3 separate regions of the Homo sapiens genome follow, and all the other regions are linked to region 3. The links are contacts of gene promoters, found by promoter capture Hi-C in blood cells and fetal thymus (Javierre and others, 2016). All regions are on one chromosome and are shown on one strand. The core of a region is centred on a gene start or on the middle of the fragment in contact, and the rest is flanking DNA. Distances in the headings are between cores, read along the strand shown.

Region 1 (3,502 bases), core at 247-2,746, 190 kb after region 3:
GGTAGGCTTGGGGGAAGGGAGCTTCTCACCGGATGTAACACCACAGGGTGTTACATGCCTTATGTGCTACACATGGACACCCCAGGGATCATGTCCACCGGGTCCTGGTCCCCATTTCCTGCCCCATCCCCCCAACCCCCCATATCTACCCAGATATTTTCATAACCCTCCCCTAGACTTGCCCCTCACTTTCACAGACATTTGCCCTAAACCCTGCACCCCGGGAATCCGGGGTTCCCCAGCTGCAGGCCCCTCCCTCGGTCTCACCAACCAGCCGTCCAATCCACCCCTTCCTCTAAGGACCGTGTTGCCTAGCAACGGTATCTAGGACCAGTCAAGACCCGGGGAGACCCACCTCCAGGAGGCCCTGTCGTCAGGACAACAGGGGGGTGGGGCGTGGCCTGGGGCCGACCAAACTCCTGAGCGCAGAAGGGATCCGCTAGCCCCGCCTCTCCTGCCCTGGGCCCCGCCCCACGTTAGCCAGGCCGAGAGGAGGCCGGGCTGAAGAGGTTTGTGGGCGCAGCGCATCCTGAATAACCTGCCTTCCTCGCTCCCCTACGCCCCTCACCCTACGCAGTGCAAAGGACGTCAGGAACTGGGAGTGGTGAAAGACATCCGGGTCCTATCCCGCTCATCTACTCCCTCCCCCCACTTCATTCGGGAAAGGGTTAAAGTGGGGCGTGCCCAGGTCCCTGACGTCAATCGCCTGGTCTCTAGACTCCCAGGCGGGGCCCGCTTTAGCCCGGTCCTAGGGGCTTCCCCAATTGCCAGGGCAACCGAAGCCACGTCTCTATGGCAATGGGGGGAGGCCGCCAAGAGCCTCCTTCCGGGGTCCCCAACCTACTTCCTCCTTAAAGAAACATGTATTTGCAGTCGCCCAAGCGCAAGGATTCCCCAGTCTCCTTCCCGCTCTCCCCGTCCAAAGGGGTCCCTCCCCTCTCCTACTGCTATTTCTCAAGCCTACAAACTACCGACCATTTTCAAGCTGTATCACAGATTTCACACCCATAAATCTATTAACACCACCCTCCAACCCTTCACATATCAGCAAATGCTGTTGTCCAACCAACAGTCACTGACTGCCAAAATCTCATCCACGTGTTCATCCCCCATCCCACAGCCCGTCCCCCATCCCACAGCCCGTCCCCCATCCCGCAGCCCGTCCCCCATCCCGCAGCCCGTCCCCCATCCCGCAGCCCGTCCCCCATCCCGCAGCCCGTCCTCCATCCCATAGCCCGTCCTCCATCCCATAGCCCATCCTCAATCCCCATCCCCATCCCTATCCTGGAACCTCCTTCCCAGCACACCCACCTTCATCCACTACGACATTCATTTGCTTCCCATCCCTATCTCTGCCCGCATCCCACATGCTCCATCTCCATCCCTGTCTCGCCCTTCAACATCCATCTTCCAACCCCAGCCTCCATTCTCCATCCGCTTCCCTGGCCCTGTCGCACCCTCCAGCCCCATCCCTTACCAATGTGGCCTCATCCTCCATCCCAATTTCTTTTTTTCCAGAGACAAGGTCTCGCTGTGTCACCCAGGCTGGAGTGCAGTGGTGTGATCATAGCTCACTGCGGCCTTGAACTCCTGGGCTCAAGCAGTCCTCCCACCTCAGCCTCCTGAGTAGCTACAGGCACATGCCACCCCACCCAGCTACTCCATCTCAATTTCTGATTCCCCAGAGAGTTTATCACCATTCTCCCTTACCCTACCTTCATACCCTCAAGATTATTCTCAAGTAACAATCTTACACTTCTCAATCAACTCCCCTCTCTTCTGAAAATTGGGGCTTCTCCTGTTCCCCAGGTGAGGCCTTGTCCTGAGACCTCCACCCCATGCTTATGGCCTCCAACACTCTCTCCCTCCACCCCCTTCTGCTCCTGAGCTCTGATCAGCAGCAGCTCTGTACTAACTACCACCCCTCAGGCTCCCTACCTCCTCTTCCCCCTGCTCAGGGATTTAATGGCCCTGCCTTGCACAAAGCATCTCTAGTCTTCTTTCCCTCACTCCTAGCATCCACAGAATTCGCACAAACACTCTGTACCATCCCTGTCTCCAGGGCCTTCCTTTCCTTGCTCTGTCAGCCTCATTCACTGCCCTGATCTCACAGTCTTATCCCTATCTGGCCCCTGACCCAGGACCTCTTACCCTTCCTATCCCCCAACTCCTCTCTTGCCAGTTCTAACTCCAGAACCTGCTTGCCCGCTCCCTAGGCTCAGAGACCTCCTCCCCATCTTCTTGGTGAAATGTCAGCAACCTCCCCCTTCCCAGAGCATCCCACAACATCCTAGAATCCCCACCCTGACCCCACAGTGTCCCCTCAATCTCACAGCTTGCCTGGTGCTCTCCAGTCCTCCCCATCCTGTGTCCCCAGAAGAGGAGATGGAGGAAGGGGAAGATGGAAAGTGGACTGGAGAATGGAAGGTCCCAGAAACCAGGCCTCCCGGGACTGGAGAGAGGAGGACGCTGTGAGCAGAGAGGAGAAAGGGAAACAGGTGGTGGGGGATGATGGAGGGGGCAGAGGGGGATAGAAAGAAGATATGGCAGAGGTGAGAACCCAAGAGGATGAGAGAGGGGAGGAGGAAAAGAGGGAAGGTGAAGATGAATAGGCAAGAGGGAACATGGGAAAGGGGAGCTGGCTGATGGAGGGAGAGGACTGATGAGGGAAAGGACTGATCAGGCCCCAGCGGCCTGGGCTGGGGATCAGGGAGAGGGAGAGGAGAATGCGTGGGAGGAAGAGAGAGACAGCATCAAGAGCCAGCCAGCCAGCCAGCCAGCAGGGAGGAAAGGCTGCAGAGGGGGAAGAGAACTCAGGAGTGGAGCAAAGCTGGGGCAGGGGACGAGGCAGCAAGGCCCCACCATGTGAAGTCTCAGGCCAGACAGATGGAAAGAGCTGGAGACTTGGGGACAGGGCGAGCCAGGCCCAGAGGCGGAGGTAGGGGGAGGAGGCGGGGAAGGGACAAGAGCAAATGAGGGCAGCAGGCGCTTGGAACAGAGCTCTGGACACAGAAAATGGAAATGGAGGTTGGGGGTGTGAAGGAATGAAGAGGTCCCAGGCGTGGGGGCCTCTTGGGGGATGCACACACCTCAACACACACGCATACAGCACACGCACAGGCACACAAACGGCGCACGCACGCACACACACACACAGCACACACACAGGCACGCATGCATGCACACACGCACAGGCACACACACAGCACACGCGCACAGGCACGCGCGCACACACACATTCTTGCTTTAGGCTTTACATCCACTCCCATTGGCCTGGCCTGTTTCTCCTCTGTGGGACCAAGGTGTTTCCAGCCCCACAAACGCCCCCTCCCCCAGACCCCAGGAGCCCAAGCCCCAAACCCCCGCCCCCAGTCCCAGCATCCCCCTCCCCACGGCTCTCTCTCACCCTACCGGCCCTTAGGGATTGCTGCAGCTCCGAGGCTCCGAGGGCCGCACTGGGGAGGGGGCCACCAGGGTCTCCTACCTTGAAGGGGGAGAGGTG
Region 2 (3,728 bases), core at 622-3,121, 210 kb after region 3:
CTCAGGTTCTTCTTCCAACTCCTGCTCTCGCCTCTGCCTGTGCCATTCCTGGCTTTGGTCACCACCTCCTCCCCTTCTCCAGCCACCTGCCCAGGACCCAGCCATACCCAGAAAGGCATTAGGGATGGTGATCTTGAGCCACATGCGGTCCCGGACTTCCAGTCCAGACTCTGGAGCTGCCATGGCCTTGGTCACCGATGCCATGTCCGTATGGACGGAGAGACCCCGGCCTTCACAGCCTGGCAGAGGAGACAACGGGTAACCAGAGTCAGGGATCGCTCCCACAAGGGCAATGGATCAGACCACTGCGGGACAGCCTTCTGCTGGGAGGGTGGGATGAGGTGGGCTGGCGGCTCACCATCAGGCAAAGACGATCCAGATGTAATGGTGCTCATGGAGGAGGAACCTGGATAGGCTGGGAAGGTGCCAGTCAGAGCCGCGGAATGGGACACCCAGGCAGCAGGGTCAATTGGCTGGATGGGCTCATCTGGGACAAAGATGGCACCAAAATGACCCATTCTCAGTCCCCAAAAGCCAGCCCAGTCCCTCCCTGACTCAGCCTCCTGTTCCACCTCTGCCTGGACCCTCCTCCCACCCATTCCCCATGACCACAGGCCCGGCCCCAGCCTCCTGGGCAGCCCCCACCCCCAACTTCAGGCCCCTCCCTGAGTGTCACTCACTTCGGGGGAGAGTGAAATAGGCCTGAGGAGAGGGATCCCAGCACTTGGCCACAGTCAGCACAATGGGGCTATGGGGAAGAGAAGTCCAGTCAAGGGCGCAGGGGAAGAGGAGGCCTCAGGAGGGCGGGGGTCTGAAGCAAGGATGGATTAAGAGACACAAAGAGGGGGAGAAGCAAGCACATCGCGGCTGGGCTAGAGAAGGTGAGGGTGGAAGGCACCACAATGTGGATGACTCATCAACATGGAAAACTCTTAAAAACATACTGCCAAGTGAGACAAGAGAGTACACGCTGTACAGTTCCATTCACAGAAAGTCCAAAAACAGGTAAAACGAAACTGCAGTGTTCAAGGATACGTGCAAGGGTGGTAACTATCCAGTGAGGCAAAGCTTTTCTTTGTTATGGTGATGGCCAAAGAAGTCAGGAGAGTGACTACCCCTGGGGCAGTGAGGCATTTGGGAGCAGGAAGGGACATCTGAGGAGGAAGTTCTAGGGTATCAGCAATCTCCTATTTGATGATCTAGATGGCAGTGACATGGATATTTACTCTAGTATTATTTGCTATGTCATGCATTTGTTTCATGTACTTTGAACGTTATGTCTTAGCACTTTTTTTTTTTTTTGAGACGGAGTCTTGCTCTGTCGCCCAGGCTGGAGTGCAGTGGCGTGATCTCGTTTCACTGCAACCTCCACCCCCCAGGGTTCAAGTGATTCTCCTGTCTCAGCCACCTCACTAGCTGGGACTACAGGCATGTGCCACCATGCCCACTTAATTTTTCTATTTTTAGTAGAGACACGGTTTCACCACATTGGTCAGGCTGGTCTCGAACTCCTCACCTCAGGTGATCCACCCATCTGGGCCTCCCAAAGTGCTGGGTTTACAGGCTCGAGCCACCACGCCCGGCTGTCTTAGTACTTATTAAAATTCCAAAACAAAACATGAAAGAGAAAAAAAAAGAGGACTGAGGACCGGCAACCTGCTTGGCAACTCACCCAGGCTTGTGCACAATGTCCCTCAGCACCCGCACAGCGTCATCGTTGCTCATGTTCTCAAAGTTCATGTCATTCACCTGGAAGCGACGGCAAGTGGGTCAGAGACACGGTGGGAGAGGCTGAGGGCCCCCGTGCAGGGCAGCTCAGTGGCCCTACCCCAGCACACCTGCAAAAGCATGTCCCCTGGCTCAATGCGCCCGTCGGCCGCCACAGCCCCACCCTTCATGATGGAGCCAATGTAGATGCCTCCGTCTCCCCGCTCATTGCTCTGGCCAACAATGGAGATACCCAGGAAGTTGTACTTCTCTGTGGAGAGAGGCCATGTGAAAAGAGGAGCCCCTGCCACAGGACGCCCGGAACCCTAGAGACCAGGCCCTCCCCACGCCCTAGCCACAGGCTCTCCCCATACCCATGTTTAGCGTGACTGTGATGATATTGAGAGACATTGTGGAATCTGTGACGCTGCTGAAGGATGACGTCTGTGGTGGGAAAAGGAGCCAGAGTGCCCTTCAATAACCCAGGGTCAACCCTGGGGTGCTGCCGGTGTCCTGGCACCGCCCAAACCAAAGCCCATGCCCCACCTTCTCCCAGCACCAGCCTTCCTGTAGGAACCCCTCACCCTCTCCAGGCGGGGTGGCCTCTGCTTCCTTCGCCGCCGGTGGCGCTTAAGGAGGCGGGAGGCACTGCTCTGCTCCGTGGAGCTGCTGAACCTACCAGGAGGTTGGGAAGGAGAGCAAACGTAGGCCAAAGTGGTCATGGGGCCAAGAGAAAGAACAAGAGGATTGACTGGAAGACGAGACGGGGCTGGGTGCGCTGGGGAGAGCTGTGCGGAGCCACACCTGCTCATGGTGTCCTCCTCGTCCGAGTCCCCCAGGCTGGTACTCTCCAGCTCGCTGGTCATGAGGGTAGAGGAGCTCTCGTATCCGGCCAGGTGGCGCTCCAGCCTTGAGGGGCCACCAGTCCTGTGGCCCCCAGCTACATATGGACAGGAAGCTCAAGAACCAAGCTTCCCCCTGCTCACCCCACCAAGGCTGGGGTCTGGCCCAGCCCTTCCCGGCCCCCAGGCCTGCCCCTCACCGCCATGCTCACTGCTGTCTCTCCTGCGAGGCCGCTCCCGCCTCAGTGACACTACTGACTCGGTTTCTGTCTCAGGCTCCAGATTCTCATGGCTGCTGGACACATTAGGGCTGGACAGGCAGAGATGGTTTCCAACCCACATCAGGAGAACAGGGCTCCGGATCCTAGGCGTCCCCTACCAAAGGCCTGGGTTCCCTCCTCACCTCCCTCCCCTGCAGTCAAGAATCTGAAGGACTCACTGGAAGGATGGAGGCCTTGAGTCCCCAATGCCGCTGGTCCTCTCGGGTGGCAAAGGAGGTAAAGGTGGGGCTGGAGGCGCCAGTTCTGCCCGAGGCTCATGGACTGGAGGGGCCATCTCGGGTTGGGGATTATCTGAGGACACCAGCTAGAAGGGTGCAAATGATAAACAGTGGCTCACTTGGGAGTCAGGGTGTGACAGGTGGCAGTAAGTGAAAGAATGAGAAAGGGTCTCAGAGAGCTGGAGAAGAGCAAAAAAACCTAGCAAGTATTAGAGACTCCAGAAGGAGAAGGCTGAGGGCCTCTCGCCGGCTCTCCAAACAGACAGGAGGTAAAGAGCCAGGGCTGCTAACGCGCGGCCTGGGGAGGATACAGAAACAGACTGAGGCTTGAGGGAGCTTGGCAATGCTGAGGGGGCCTGGTCCTCGGTGTCAGAACCTCTTACCCAGGATACCACCCTTCCGTTGAAGCAGGGGAGGCGGGCGTTGTCATCTGAAATTTCTTCCTTCACCACCCTGCCAAGCGACAAGGTAGAGGTCAGTGAGCTGGACCAACCATCCCCACCCCGACCCCCATCAAACTTTCTCCCAATCTTCACCTGGCTCCAGGATGTTGACTTTCTCCTGCCCTGTTCAGGTCTTCTCTTACATTGAAAGAACTCACTCCGACACCTAAGAAATCTCCAAACTCAATCCCCTTTCCTTATTTCTCCTCTCCCTAACGCACCCTCAGGGGCACAGTG
Region 3 (3,742 bases), core at 971-3,470:
ATTCCCGCATAAGCATCTGCCCCCAACCCCTTTGACCTTCATCTGATGGACATTTTTATACAGAAAACAATAAAGATTTCCCTCTCAGCTTCGTGCTGTCTGCTTAACATTATTAGCAGGAGAGGCCTGTTCCCTCTTCTCTCCTCGGCCCATGGGGGCTCAGCCCCTCCTCGGTAGTTTTCACCACCCTGCCTGGAGCAGCACAGCCAATATTGGCAGACTCGCTTCCCTGTGCCAATATTTCTGTGCTGCTAGAGCCAGGGAAGCTGGGTGTGGGCAACAAAGACTCCACTTTGTTCTCTTGAGGCAGAACTTACTCCCAGGGTCTCTGGCCATCAGTATTCTTGAAACTGCCCTGGAGATTTTAGAGGGGTGCTTACATACCCCACCCTCTCCTTGCCCACCTGGCAAGAAGTTTGTCACAAGGCCCCAGATGTTTTTTGTGTCACTTCTCCAGGATGGCCTCCCAGGGCCAAGCCTCGGCGGTGCCTCCCCCACCCTCGCTCTAACACCACAGTGTGGTTTGGACGTGGCCACAGTGCCGTACAAACCACAGTGTGCTGCTGGGGCGGGAGCAGGACCGGGGTGGGTTGAAAGGAAGAGAGCACATAGCAGTGCTGGGAAGACCCCAGCACCACCTCCAGGAGCGGGGGGATAGAGAAGCCTTAAAAGGCAAACATGGCCCCCAAAAACGTTTGGGAGGAACCAGGGACGGGCTGAGCAGGCAACTGGAAGGCGACGGACCATGGGGATGAGCTCACAGTGTAGTAAGATTGGACCATCTTCCCTCTGTAGGAACTCAGCTCAGGGGATCCCTAGGGTGGGGTCAGAGGCAGAAGAAATAGGGAATGACTGGAGGGGCCAACACACTGCCTCCTGTCTCAGCAAGGGCAGGGACCCAAGGCTTCCTGTGTCCGTCCTTCCTCTCCCTGGGTCAGAACCCAAGAGAAAAGCAAGGAGAGACAGAGGGCCAAGGCCAGCAGGGTTGGGAGTTGGCAGTCCAGAGGTGGTGGGGCCGGAACATGGTTGGGAGAGGGGGGCCGGAAGTCGCCCTGGGCCCTGGGCCTGCCACAAGATGGAGGCCAAAGGCAGGAAATGGAGACCAGGGGGAAGGGGAGCAGCAGAGCCCAGGAAGAGGGCCATCTGGACCTGGGGGGCCAGGTATTCAACCCCCAGTGCTGTTCCCACTCCCCAGGGCCCCTGAGGACCCGAGCCGGCCCCCACAGCAACCTCCATCAGCCCATCCACCAGGCCAGGGCAGGCGGGCCCACCCCAGAGAGCCACGTTTAAGCTGAGACAAACATGCCTCTCCCCACCCCCAACTCCAGGCCTTCCCTCAGCCCTTTTCTCCTGTCCAGGACTTGATTTTTTAAAAACACCCCTCAGAAAGCAAAATCCAAGGGCCAAAACTCCTTTTGCAAATCAAAATATGACCCCCTAAAATCCAGAAGTTATCTTCCTATATCCCATCGCATCTTTTACCACCCCCTCTTCCGACACACCCCCCAAAACTCTTAGCAATCTGAAAGATCCAAGGTGGTGTATGTAAGCAGTCTTTTTAGGCCCCCGAAGATGCCAGACCCCTCCCGGACACCCCTATCTGCCCTCCATCAAATCTTGCCAAGGCCTCCTGCTCCTCCACCACCCTCCATAGCCCCCAAACTAACAGTTGCCCCCAGCTCCTACCTCGGCAGAGCCTTTGTGGGGGGTGAAAGAGAAATTAAACACTATCCTAACGGCTGGGGATGTTGGGGGGCTCTCTGGTCTCAGCCTTTGGTTTCCGTCTGGGGGGCTGCAGTTTAGGGGTATAAGAGAAAGCCTCTCCAATCATCCCCCCAATTCCAAGACTGACAAAGCCAACCCCACCCCAGCACGCACCTCCAAACCTCCCCCCCAACCGCCACGTCTCTCCTGAAAACAGAGGACACTTCCCTCCCCACTTACCTCAGCTACTCTCCCCTGAGATCCTGGTCCCCTATTTTGAAAAGAGCAAAATTTAGGGTGCATCCCTCACATTTGGGGTGCAGGAGAAAGGAGCCGCCCCAGTCGCATCGCTGGCCTCCTTCCTCTCGGCTGGCTCAGGGACTGGGGAGTGCCCTGGGGAGGGGGCACCCCCACAAGAGATCTCAGGAGGGGTTCCTCCACTCCCAGTCAGAATTGGGGACACCCCCCCAAAACCCGTCCCAGCCCATCCGTCTCCAACTCGGCGGGAGAGGCAGCTGCAATGCCCCAGTCAGATTCACCCAACACTACATTCCTCACCCCATCTAGAGGGGTCCCGGGGTCCCCAAAAAATCCCAAAAAAATCTAGGATGTTGGGAGGACGGTCCTGGACTAGCTCCCCAAATTTGGGGTCCTCAGATACCCCCGTTTTTTCAGGAAAATTCCGTCTTTTGCCTGCCTCCCGCCAGCCCTGCTCTGTCCCGATGCCAATTTTGGAAGTCACTCCCTCCTTCCTCCTCCCCGTCTCTCCAGGCCCCCCCCACCGCTCGGGGGCTAGGGTCCAGGACACCTGGCTTCCAGACCGGGGGGAATCACTCCTCAAAGGGCTAGGGGCCAGGAGGTCAAGCTCATTGCCCCTGTCTTAAGGAAGCAGGAAAGCCCGTTCCTCCCTTCCCCTCCCCCCTGGCTGGTCACCGTGGTGGTTTAGGAAAGCCTGGAGGATTGGAATCTGCCATTGCTGTTGCACAGGCAGTTTTTTTTCTTGGGTTGGGGGGGTGGGCGGTGGGAGGGAGAGAGGGGAGGAGGGCCGAAGAGAGAAGGGACCCAGGCGCGAAGAGCTGGCCTGGCTTACCCTGTAGCCCCGGCTGCCGTGGGGAACCCCTCCCCGCCATCTCACCCACACTCCCAGTCCTCTGTCTGCTTTCTGTTTGGGGCTCATCCTAGAAAATCAGGGTGCAAGAATCACCTCCTTGTACCCCACCAGCACCCCTCCTTGCCACAGTTCCAACAGCACTGCCCTGGTCAGGGGTGCCCACTTGGCCAAGGGACACCCCATTTTTCTCCAACTTCCCCCAAACTAAGGGGTGCTCCCTTAAGAAATTGGGATTCAGAGTCTGAAACCGCCTTTTCTCCCTCTCTTCTCCCTCAAGCCACATAATAATAAAAGGAGATACCACACCCTTTCCAAGTTTCTCCCTTCAAATCCTGGGCTTATTTGGGGGTTCACTAAAGAAACTTCTAGAATCTGGGGTGAGAGGGCACTATAAGCAAAAGACATCCCAAACCAGGGTCCAAATTAAGTGAACTCCCAAATCAGTCTCACCTTATGATTATCCCTTAGCTTCACCAAAAGCAGCCAGAGTGACAAAACACCCCCAAAATAAGAACACCCCAGAACTTTAGTCTCCTGTCCTCGCGGCCCTCACCTTGTTTCTCCCCTGGGGAAAAAGCTTCTTGGGTATCCATGGATACACAGGAATACCCCACGTCTTTCCACTTTGTGGAACGTGAGTGTCCACAAGACTCAAATATAAAAGTTTGCTCCCCCCTCCCAGGACCCCCAATCACAGAAAGCTTCGAACTTGCTCCCAGCTTCCTATAATGTTCCACCTCAAACTAATTTTTAAAACTCCAAATTGAACTTATTCCCCAAATCTAATCTGAGCCTTGAAACTTAGATGGCACCCCAAAATAGACTGCACCCCCAAATCAGCATGAGTACTTTGGTTCTGCTGATAGTCCAAGATGACACAGGTGAGCACAATCTCCAAATTGTGGGTGTCAGAACCCCCAGAACTAA

The links. The method cuts DNA at HindIII sites, captures the fragments that hold promoters and counts their contacts. A CHiCAGO score of 5 or more calls a contact.
Region 1: a fragment that was not itself captured here is called in contact with the fragment with the promoter of MIR497HG in region 3 in 2 of 17 cell types (monocytes and naive CD8 T cells); the score reaches 5.9 in monocytes.
Region 2: a contact is called between a fragment that was not itself captured here and the fragment with the promoter of MIR497HG in region 3, in 1 of 17 cell types (monocytes). The highest score is 5.3, in monocytes.

The regions. Positions count from the first base shown.
Region 1 is chr17:7,204,591-7,208,092 of GRCh38, forward strand. The region is part of intron 2 of DLG4 (discs large MAGUK scaffold protein 4); the gene reads right to left. Among named protein-coding and RNA genes, the nearest start is that of DLG4, 11 kb to the right of the region's middle. RefSeq lists an enhancer at 580-629. The HindIII fragment of the contact is 8,126 bases long and covers 1-3,502 here.
Region 2 is chr17:7,227,297-7,231,024 of GRCh38, forward strand. DVL2 (dishevelled segment polarity protein 2) reads right to left here. Exons shown (of 15, transcript NM_004422.3): 2 at 3,432-3,501; 3 at 2,989-3,134; 4 at 2,750-2,859; 5 at 2,512-2,647; 6 at 2,292-2,382; 7 at 2,082-2,151; 8 at 1,839-1,978; 9 at 1,673-1,749; 10 at 681-748; 11 at 359-487; 12 at 108-239. Among named protein-coding and RNA genes, the nearest start is that of DVL2, 5.4 kb to the right of the region's middle. RefSeq lists an enhancer at 2,178-3,377. The HindIII fragment of the contact is 1,610 bases long and covers 1,067-2,676 here.
Region 3 is chr17:7,017,434-7,021,175 of GRCh38, forward strand. MIR497HG (mir-497-195 cluster host gene) reads right to left here and starts at 2,221. Exons shown (of 3, transcript NR_038310.1): 1 at 1,945-2,221. It overlaps BACC1 (BPTF associated chromatin complex component 1), which reads left to right. Exons shown (of 6, transcript NM_174893.4): 6 at 1-87. It overlaps RNASEK-C17orf49 (RNASEK-C17orf49 readthrough), which reads left to right. Exons shown (of 8, transcript NR_037717.1): 8 at 1-91. MIR195 (microRNA 195) reads right to left here and starts at 268; the gene lies at 182-268. It also overlaps MIR497. RefSeq lists an enhancer at 1,126-1,295. The HindIII fragment of the contact is 3,977 bases long and covers 1-3,390 here.